3 separate regions of the Homo sapiens genome follow, and regions 2 and 3 are each linked to region 1. Evidence: promoter capture Hi-C in 16 types of primary human blood cells and fetal thymus (Javierre and others, 2016). All regions are on one chromosome and are shown on one strand. Each heading gives the region's core, a stretch centred on a gene start or on the middle of the fragment in contact. The rest is flanking DNA. Distances are from core to core; before and after follow the strand shown.

Region 1 (3,217 bases), core at 415-2,914:
GGTACTGGAGGGAGACATGGAGATGAGTAAAAATGACAGGTAACTGGCGGGGCAAGGTGGCTTACGGCTTGTAATCCCAGCACTTTGGGAGGCCGAGGCGAGCGCATCACCTGAGGTCAGGAGTCCCAGACCAGCCTGACCAAAACGGTGAAACCCGGTCTCTATTAAAAATACAAAATTAGCTGGGTGTGGTGGTGCATGCCTGTAATCTCAGCTACTTGGGAGGCTGAGGCAGGAGAACCACTTGAACCTGGGAGGCGGAGGTGCAGTGAGCTGAGATCGCACCATTGCACTCCACCCTGGGCAACAAGAGTGAAACTCCTTCAAAAAAAAAAAAAAAAAAAAAAAAAAAAAGCAGAAAGCAGCTAACAGCTGGTTACTGAGTGCTTACTTTCTGCCAAGCACCATTCTGAAGATACCACACAGATGAACTGACTTCCTGTGCCACAACCCTAGCCAGCAGGTCATGCCACTGCAGCCCAGCCTAGGTGACAGAGCAAGACTCTGTCAAAAAAAAAAAAAAAAAAAAGAAAGAGCCTAAGAGGAGTGTGAGGGAAAAGTCCAACTCCATTATTTAAGAGATGAGGACATGGAGAGATCAATGACTTAGGAAGAAAAGGGACAAAGGACTGTGGTCAAGAGCTCCTGATTCAGGACATCTGGTCACATCCCAGTTCCATACCACTTCATGGTTCACCTGTTGGTCTTCCTGTCAAATGGGAATACCAGTGCTACGGAACTGACCTGCTCGTGAGGAGTAAAGCCCAGGGAGCTGTGCCTGGCGCACGGCAGGCCATAAAACTGGCCCCGGTTAGGGAATCCATGAGCAGCAGCCGCAGAACACTCAACCCCAAGGTCAGGACGGATCCTCCTGCAGACCCCGGGCTGAGGACCAGAGGGAAGGAGACAACCGTGATGGCCGCCATCAGCTGCTACGGGATACCCCGTGGCTCCAGTGCCTTCTTCACTTAACCATCTGCTGCTCACTGCTCAGGGCTGCTGTGATGATTATTTGCCCTCTTTTGAAAGAAAAGTAAGGTTCAGAAAAGTTAAGAGTCTTACTCCCAGACCACACATCATGCAGAGGCAGCCCCCGGCTCAACCTCAGGTCTTCCTGTGCCAAACCCCTCCCTCTTCTCACCACCCAGCCTCCCTTCAGAGGGAGGGTGGAGGGAGAAGGGAGGAGGGGGAGGAAACGCAGAAAAACGCCCGTGACACCACACTAAGAAAAGCAAGCACGTTAAAGGGGGCAGCTCCGAGAAGCGGACAGACACACGTGGAGACTCAGGAGGGGGCGGGCCCCGTCTGGGCTGCCCGGACGCGGCGCCGGGGCAGTTCCTACGGCCTCCAGCTCTCCCGCAGGGCCGGCGCGGCTCCCACGGCCGACCCGTAACCCCGGGGGGCGCAGGGAGTCGGCCGAGGCTGCACGGCCGCGACGTCGGGCCGCTAAGCCCGGTCTGACCCGCTCACCTCCTCCTTCCGCGAGCGCTTAGACACCTTCTTCTCCATCTTGGCGGCCGTCTTCTCCGCGCCGCGGCCCTTCTTCTCCTTCTTGCCCTTCTTGCCCATCTTGCCGGGTCCCAAGCCGCGACGGGACACCAGGAAAGAAAACGGCCCGCGCTCTCCGCTCGGAAACAGGTGCTCGTGGGGCGGAGCTCGGCGCACAGAAATGGAGTCACTTCCGGCCCCGAGTTCGAGCCGCTTCCGGGTAGAGGTGCGGCTGGGCCCTTTACGAGGTTCGGTCTTGGAGCTCCGTCTTCGGCAGCGGGCTCGGGGGCCTCGGACTCTGCATAAGGCCCCGGAAAAGATGACCGGCCCCGGGCTGGGCGCGGTGGCTCATGCCTGTAACCCTGGAGCTTTGGGAGGCCTTGGCGGGCGGATCGCTTGAGTCCAGGAGTTCGAGATCAGCCTGGGCAACAAAGCGAGACACCACCCCCCACCCCCAGTCGCTACAGAAGAAAAAAAAAAAAATTAACCGGGCGTGGTGTCTCGCGCCCAGTGGTCCTAGCTCCTCGGGAAGGTGAGGCGGGAAGATCGCTTGAGTCAAGGAGTTCCAGGCAGCAATGCGCCCCTGCACCCCAACCTGGGCGACAGAGCGAGATCCTGTTTCAAAAAACAAAAAAGATGGCAGCCCCGGCCTGACATACCCCGGCCATGCTCGCCAATTCTCACGCCCTGTGCCCCCACCTAGCCTGTCCCCGTGTCCTAGGAGACGTGCCCTCTGAGTTTTATTTTTTATTTCTATTTTTTTGAGGCAGGGTCTTGCTCTGTCGCCCAGGCTGGAGTGCGGTAGCGCGATCTCGGCTCGCTGTAACCTCCGCCTCTGGAGTAGCTGGGACCACAGGAGCCCACCACGCCCGGCTCATTTTCTCTTGAGTTTTCCGGGGTGCACGTGCCCCCCGTTAAGGCACATTGCTTCGCCCTGGGTAGAACTAAGTGGGCGACTCTTGGGCTAGCCCCATTTTTTCCCCTCAGACCAAACAAATGAGTGCTTTTTTCCCAGAAAAAAAATTTCACACAGTTATAAGATTTTGCAGATCCTGAGTAAGACAGTCCCTGCCGGGCGCGGTGGCTCACGCCTGTAATCCCAGCACTTTGGGAGGCCGAGGTGAGTGGATCACGAGGTCAGGAGTTCGAGACCAGCCTAGCCAACATGGTGAAACCCCCGTCTCTACTAAAACTACAAAAATTAGCCAGGCGTGGTGGTGGGCACCTGTAATCCCAGCTACTTGGGAGGCTGAGGCAGGAGAATTGCTTGAACCCAGGGGGCAGAGGTTGCAATGAGCTGAGATCAAGCCACTTCACTCCAGCTTGGGCAAAAGAGCAAAATTCCATCTTAAAAAAAAAAAAAAATGGGGGGGCCCTTCCACCTTCCCATTTAAAATGTGCCAGACACTGTTAGGTACTAAGGGCATGTCCTCAAATGTCCTAACATGGAGGACTTTTGTTTCTTCATAGGTAGGCTAGAGCTAATGATAGCACCCTGAAAGGGTACTCAATTTGTGGAGCCTGAGAAATAAAGATAGGTAATATCCAAATGCCTGCTAGGAAATTGTACTCTAGGATTTGCCTCAAATTACGTAAGAAATGGCAAAATCATCTGCAGTGCATGGAATGTTATGATTTGAAAGAGCAGAGTAAAAATGCTTATCACTACTTAGAAGATGTCATCTTTGGATGGGTAATCAAGGAATAAGGCAAATTAAGGACAAGGACA
Region 2 (3,217 bases), core at 473-2,972, 780 kb after region 1:
TGCTCAGTGCAGCCCTGACTCCCTGTGAGTCAAAAGCCACTTCTCACCTCACCAGGAGCTGTGGTGTTTGTTGGGTGTCAATGTACGACTTTAGTTGTTGTTGTTTTAAAGTTCTACTGTGTGTTTTTTTAAAGGACCAGTGAAATTTGAAAATAGCCAAGGAAAAGAAAACTGGTTCCCACAATCACAGACACCACCATGGAACACACCAAGGCAATTTCTTCATTATAAAAATTTTATTATGAAGAGACAGGGGCCGGACGGGGTGGCTCACGCCTGTAATCCCAGTACTTTGGGAGGCCAAGATGGGTGGATCAAGAGGTCAGGAGATTGAGACCATCCTGGCTAACACGGTGAAACACCATCTCTACTAAAAAAATACAAAAAATTAGCCAGGCGTGGTGGTGGGCGCCTGTAGTCCCAGCTATTCGGGAGGCTGAGGCAGGAGAATGGCGTGAACCCGGGAAGCGGAGATTGTGGTGAGCGGAGATCGCGCCACTGACTCCAGCCTGGGTGACAGAGCGAGACTCTGTCTCAAAAATAAATAAATAAATAGATAAAATAAGAGACAGGGTCTCACTATATTGCCCAGGCTGGTCTGTGAACCGCTGTGCTCGATTGGTCCTCCTGCCTCAGCCTCCCAAAGTGCTTGGATCACAGGCATGAGTCGCCGCACCTGGCCAACACGGGGGCAGTTTTTGATGCAATGTCTGCAGTGGCTGGAGGGAGCTGGGCTCCTGCTCACATCATGCTTTGTGCTTCGGTTGCTCCCACTTCAGGGCTGCACTCACCCTCCCTCAGCAAACCTCAGACTTGGAAGAGGCTACCATGAGGGTGTGTGGCTTGGTTTAGACCTTGTTGACAAAGAAGTCAGTTAATCCCAAGTTCAGTAACTAATAAACATCAGCACATGGTAACACACAGTCTAACTACTAGTTTTTTTGTTTTTTTTTGTTTTTGGGTTTTTTTTTGAGACGGAGTCTTGCTCTGTCGCCCAGGCTGGAGTGCAGTGGCTCCATCTTGGCTCACTGCAACCTCCGCCTCCCAGGTTCAAGCGATTCTCCAGCCTCAGCCTCCTGAGTAGCTGGGATTATGGGCCTGGGCCACCACGTCTGGCTCTGTGAGTCAGCACAGGGAATCTTACCATGGACGCTGCCGGGAGATGCAGGGCCACTCAGGTGTGCACGTACACTGGATTCAAATACAGGCAGCAGACATAGACAACGATGCCGGGAGAGGGGCGGCTGGCAGAAGAATGGCCCCAAAGATGCCTGTGTTTTCATCCCCAGGGGGAGCCTGTGAAGGCGCAGCCTCATGCAGCAGAGGGGAGTTAAGGCTGCAGGGGAAGTTGAGGTTGCTCATCAGCTGACCCAAGATACAGAGATTACCCTGGATCATCCTGGTGGGCACAGCATAATCACAAAGTTCTTATCAGTGGAAGAGGGGTCAGGAAGAATACCAGAGAGGTGGGATGGGAGGACTCAATGGGCTTTGAAGATGGGGGGGGTGCCATGAGCCAAGGAACGGGGAGGCTTCCAGAATAAGCAGCTGGTTCTCCTCAGGAGCTCCCAGCTGGGGCCAGCCCTGCTCACGCCTGGACCTCAGCCAGTGAGACCCGCTTCAGTGAGCCCCACTGGCTCCTGAAGGCTGCTGCACCTGACTCAGGATAGCTGGGACTTGGAGTAGGGTGGGACACAGGGCACAGAGGGCCGGCCAGGGCTGCAAAAAGATCCCGGTGGCACCTCATGAGCTGGGGACAGGGGTCCTGTGCCCGACCATCTTGCGTCTCTTTTTGTTTCTACCTTTGCAATAATAATAATACAAGTAAAGTCAGATAGAAGTTCAGGAAGCATGCACATGGGATGCTCCAGTCTCCAGCCAGCACGAGGAAATCATCACTCTCCAATCAAAGGCAGAGGGCGAACAATGGCGCCATCACGGTGCACTGCAGCCTCAACCTCCTGAGCTCAAGGGGTCCTCCCACCTCAGCCTCCTAGGTGCTGAGGACCACAGGCGTGCAGCACCATTCCCAGCTATTTTTTTTTACTTTTTGTAGAGATGGCATCTCACTATGTTGCCCAGTCTGGTATCCACCTCCTTACTTAAGCAATCTTCCTTCCTCAGCCTCTCAAAGTGCTGGGATTACAGGCATAAGCCACCGCACCCAGGCCCGAGGTTGAGCTTTTGAGTGGCTGTCACCCTACTTTCCACAACAGTCACACCGATTGCTGTTCCCATCAGCAGTGCATGCCAGGCCTCCACATCCCACCAACACATGCTGCAGCACTGTCTGACTTCAGCATCTGAATGCATGAGAAGCGGAGTCTCACTGGGGCTGTAATCTGCATTCTCCAGTGACCGGCAGTGCCACGCAGCATCCCCCTGCTCACTGGCCACTGTATGTCTATGGAGAAACATCTGTCCAGACCCATCGCCCATCTCTGCACCTTTCTGCTCATTTCTAAGGTGAGAAAACAGAGGGTGGACAAGGTGAGGGAAGAGAGGGTGGAGAAGGCGAGGGGACAGAGGGTGGGGAAGGTGAGGGGACAGAGGGTGGAGAAGGTGAGGGGACAGAGGGTGGAGAAGGTGAGGGGACAGAGGGTGGGGAAGGTGAGGGGACAGAGGGTGGAGAAGGTGAGGGGACAGAGGGTGGGGAAGGTGAGGGGACAGAGGGTGGAGAAGGTGAGGGGACAGAGGGTGGAGAAGGTGAGGGGACAGAGGGTGGGGAAGGCGAGGGGACAGAGGGTGGGGAAGGCGAGGGGACAGAGGGTGGGGAAGGCGAGGGGACAGAGGGTGGGGAAGGCGAGGGGACAGAGGGTGGGGAAGGCGAGGGGACAGAGGGTGGGGAAGGCGAGGGGACAGAGGGTGGGGAAGGCGAGGGGACAGAGGGTGGGGAAGGCGAGGGGACAGAGGGTGGGGAAGGCGAGGGGACAGAGGGTGGGGAAGGCGAGGAGAGGGTGGGGAAGGCGAGGGGACAGAGGGTGGGGAAGGCGAGGGGACAGAGGGTGGGGAAGGCGAGGGGACAGAGGGTGGGGAAGGTGACCGGACAGAGGGTGGGGAAGGTGCGGGGACAGAGGGTGGGGAAGGTGCGGGGACAGAGGGTGGGGAAGGTGAGGAGACAGAGGGTGGGGAAGGTGCGGGGACAGAGGGTGGGGAAGGTGACTGGACAGAGGGTGGGGAAGGTGACGGGACAGAGGGTGGGGAAGGCGAGGGGACA
Region 3 (3,217 bases), core at 204-2,703, 760 kb after region 1:
CCCAGCCTGTGGTCGCAGAAGTAGGAGCGGCAGGCCCCTCTGAGAGTGTTTGGCAGTGGGGGCCGTGGCAGGGTGGCCGGAGCTGCTTATCTTGCACCCCTAGGTCTCCTACCTGTTCCCTCCCGGGTCGGGGGCGGGTGCCGGATGGGAGCCTCACCCTCCTTCCCCCTGCCCCTCCCCACCCGCACAGCCAGGCCAGGCGCCCCGTCGCGCCCCACATACGCGGGGTGCACTCGGCGGGGCCGGGCGGGAACATGGCGCCTGCCCTCCACTCGGGACCGCCACAGAAAAATCGGGGGTGCGTGCAGCGTCAGCACAGTTGCGGCGCGTGTTTTTATCATGCTGGGAACACGCTGCTCCTGGGAGTGATAAGCATTAAACCGGCCGGCAGGCTGTCAGTCTCAGTTTGAGGGTTTAGAAATATTGGGACGAATAATTAGATTTCATATCGTTACCGCAGCACCCATCGGAGGATCAAGCAGATTAATTTTTTTCACCCTCCTCTGCTCATTAATATTCATTAGAGGCTCAGGAAGGCCAGGGTGGGGAGGGCCAGGCCCCAGCAGCCTCGCCGAGCGCTGCCCGCCTGGCTCGGGAGCAGCCGGGACACAGTAGCCGCCGGTCACCCACCTTTGTGCCAGGAATGTGCCTGCCCATTGCCCCTGGGGTTTACCCCCCAGCCTGCCCCAGCAGAAGCCCCCATCGGAGCCGGCAGAGCCCCACAGCTGGCGTGCAGTTCCTGAGCCCTGCTCTGCGGCCCTGGGAATCACGGGGGTGTCCTTTAAAAGGGGGGCACCCACCCGATGCCAGCCTGCACAAAGCACCTTTCTCGGGGCAGCCACTCACCACAGTGGACACTCAGCATGTGCTGCCCCGGACATGCCCTGTGGACGGCACCCCATGCCCACTTTGTCCTGCCAGGTCAACCCAAAAGCAACAGCCAGGGCTGGAGCTAATATGCATCCTGTGCTGGGAACCTGCCAGGCAGGCAAAAAGCTTCACACAGATCATGGCCTCCCAACATACCGGGAGGAAACTGAGTCAAAGGAGATAGGACTGACCCCCCTGAGACTGCCCCAAAGGCTAATGGTGGGCTTCGGGTGGGTCCAGAGTGAGCAGGGGCTCGGCCGCCCCTCTGTCCCCCCAACAGCCATGTGGGGAGAGGGCAGAGCCCCGTCTGCAGAGGAGAACCTGAGCCAGGGGTTGGGGTGGCTGCTGGGGACGGCTTCACACTGGGACTGCAGGGTTGCACCCACCCCAGCCAGGGCACCCACCCCACTGGCCAGCTTAGCTCTGCTCACCCGTTCTGTGGCTGAGCCGTGTGGTAGCAGGCAGGTGACGTGGAAGCCACCTGCTCTGCTGGCCAGCCCGCCTGAACCTTGCCTGAGTAGTCACTGAACGTCCCAGCCCAAAGGCTGTATCTTGCTAGATTCCTGAGTGCCCTGCGGATGGGCCAAGAGGCAGGGGTGGCCCAGAGGGGTCCCTGCATACGGGTCTGGTCGTGCCCTGCCCAAGGTCGCAGCAGGGAGGCCGAGCCTGGCTGGGACCCCACTGCCCACCTCTGCGGCCCACAGGGTCCCACGCGTGCTGGCAAAGTCCAGGAAAGCTCATGGGCTGGCACCTAGTGGGGAGGTACCCCAGACCCACAGGGGACATCCCTGCACTGTCACCAGCCCGACCCCTTGTACCATGGCAGGGTTGGGCTGACTGCCATCCTCACCACAGGGCTGCACAAACCTGTCCCGGGCCAGCGGCAGCATTTGTAGGTGACACTGGCTTTTCAGGCAAAGGTCATGGTGCAGGAAGTTTCTGATTAAAAGGCATTCATTTGTATAGAACAAAAAGTGTGTTTACAGGAAGTGCTGGAGCACGCGTGTATGCTGTGCCTCCAGATTGGACACCCAGGTGGCTAAGCTTGGGGACCACCAGTGCAGTGAGCAGCACAGGGCTGAGGGTCAGGGCACTGAGGCTGAGTCAGCCTTGCAGGAGGGACCGAGGCCTGAGGGGCAGCGGCGGTCACCCCTTCCTCCGTCACCATTTTCTCCCCTTGATGTCTGACCAGTGTTGGGCACCACAGAGCGAGGCCATGGACTGCCCGCCCCACCTCGCCCTGTCCCAGCCCCCGACTGCACTGGGATGGGGCCCCTCGCATTTCCTCTGCCATTCAGCTGGGGGCCGGGGTGCAATGGATGCAGGAAACGAGGCGGCCTCCACGGGCTCGGCCCAGAGTGTTTTCCTTCCAGACTTAGCCTGAGCCACCGCCGACAGCATGGCATGGCCCGAGGCACTGGCATGAGCTCTGTCCCTCCCCTTCCCAGGCCTCAGTTTCCTCACCCATGAGATGGAGAGGAGGGTACTGCCTGCTTTCCAGGGTGACAGTGAGGCCAGGGGGGCCAGGGCCGATCCAACACAGTGCTGGTGTCTCAGGCCCACAGGAAGGGGCCTGACCAGCCTCAGGGTGGGGACAGACCTGCTGAGTCCACCAGGTGCTCCCCAGCGTCCGCCGTGTGCCGGCCCCGGGAGCGAGCGGGAACGCAGGTGGCCCTGCCACGCCCTGTGGCAGGGAGGGGAGCCATGCTGTCAGGAGGACACTGAGGCCCGAGGGTTGCTAGGGAAGTGCCGTATCTTCTGGGCTAATCTCGGCCCCAGCCCACAGAGGTCATTCTGGAGGCATCTAGGGCCTGTGTGGAAGGAGCCTCTACCAGGTCCAGCCCCTGTGGGAACAGCGGTTTCACACCCAGCACTCTGGGGGCAAGGGTGGGCGAGCAGTGGGGAGAACACAGATACGCAGACCCGGGTGTGAGTTCAGGCTCTGCTGCTCCCTGGCTGTGTGACCTGGAGCATGTTGCTCGACCTCTTTGGGCCTCAGTCTCCACAAGAACCCTGCGCCCAACCCTGGAAGGTACTACTCCCTGCCAAGCCTCCCAGCCCCAGCACGGTGTTAGCCCCACCGGTCAACTATGGCACAGATGGCCCATGCCACACCTCTGCCAGCTCTTGGGCCAATGACTGTCCACAGCTTGGCCTACCAGCCAAGCCGGGAGGCAGATCCGTGTCACAGATGCCCCACATACTCACGGGAACCCCCAGGCAGGCTGCTGACGGACCCCTCCCCACGTGTTCCTACCCTCCCCCCCCAGAGCCCAGCCCTGACCCTGCTGCTGGTGGACGAGGCCTGCTGGCTGAGGACGCTGCCCCAGGCCCTGACTGAGGCCGA

Evidence for each region. Contacts are between HindIII fragments. The CHiCAGO score rates a contact against its expected background, and 5 or more counts as called.
Region 2: a contact is called between a fragment that was not itself captured here and the fragment with the promoter of KLHDC4 in region 1, in 1 of 17 cell types (naive B cells). The highest score is 5.2, in naive B cells.
Region 3: a contact is called between a fragment that was not itself captured here and the fragment with the promoter of KLHDC4 in region 1, in 1 of 17 cell types (naive B cells). The highest score is 8.4, in naive B cells.

The regions. Positions count from the first base shown.
Region 1 is chr16:87,764,322-87,767,538 of GRCh38, forward strand. It overlaps KLHDC4 (kelch domain containing 4), which reads right to left and starts at 1,665. Exons shown (of 12, transcript NM_017566.4): 1 at 1,471-1,665. The coding sequence starts at 1,569. LOC105371399 (a long non-coding RNA gene) reads left to right here and starts at 1,720. Exons shown (of 3, transcript XR_933871.3): 1 at 1,720-2,020. LOC102724467 (a long non-coding RNA gene) reads right to left here. Exons shown (of 4, transcript NR_120309.1): 4 at 2,010-2,103. RefSeq lists enhancers at 953-1,577, 1,561-1,620, 1,701-1,760. The HindIII fragment of the contact is 5,415 bases long and covers 1-3,217 here.
Region 2 is chr16:88,544,377-88,547,593 of GRCh38, forward strand. No RefSeq gene overlaps it. Among named protein-coding and RNA genes, the nearest start is that of ZFPM1-AS1, 15 kb to the left of the region's middle. The HindIII fragment of the contact is 6,306 bases long and covers 1-3,217 here.
Region 3 is chr16:88,523,674-88,526,890 of GRCh38, forward strand. ZFPM1 (zinc finger protein, FOG family member 1) reads left to right here. Exons shown (of 10, transcript NM_153813.3): 5 at 3,141-3,217. The region is part of intron 2 of ZFPM1-AS1 (ZFPM1 antisense RNA 1); the gene reads right to left. Among named protein-coding and RNA genes, the nearest start is that of ZFPM1-AS1, 5.8 kb to the right of the region's middle. RefSeq lists enhancers at 1,787-2,374, 2,375-2,961, 3,189-3,217. The HindIII fragment of the contact is 918 bases long and covers 995-1,912 here.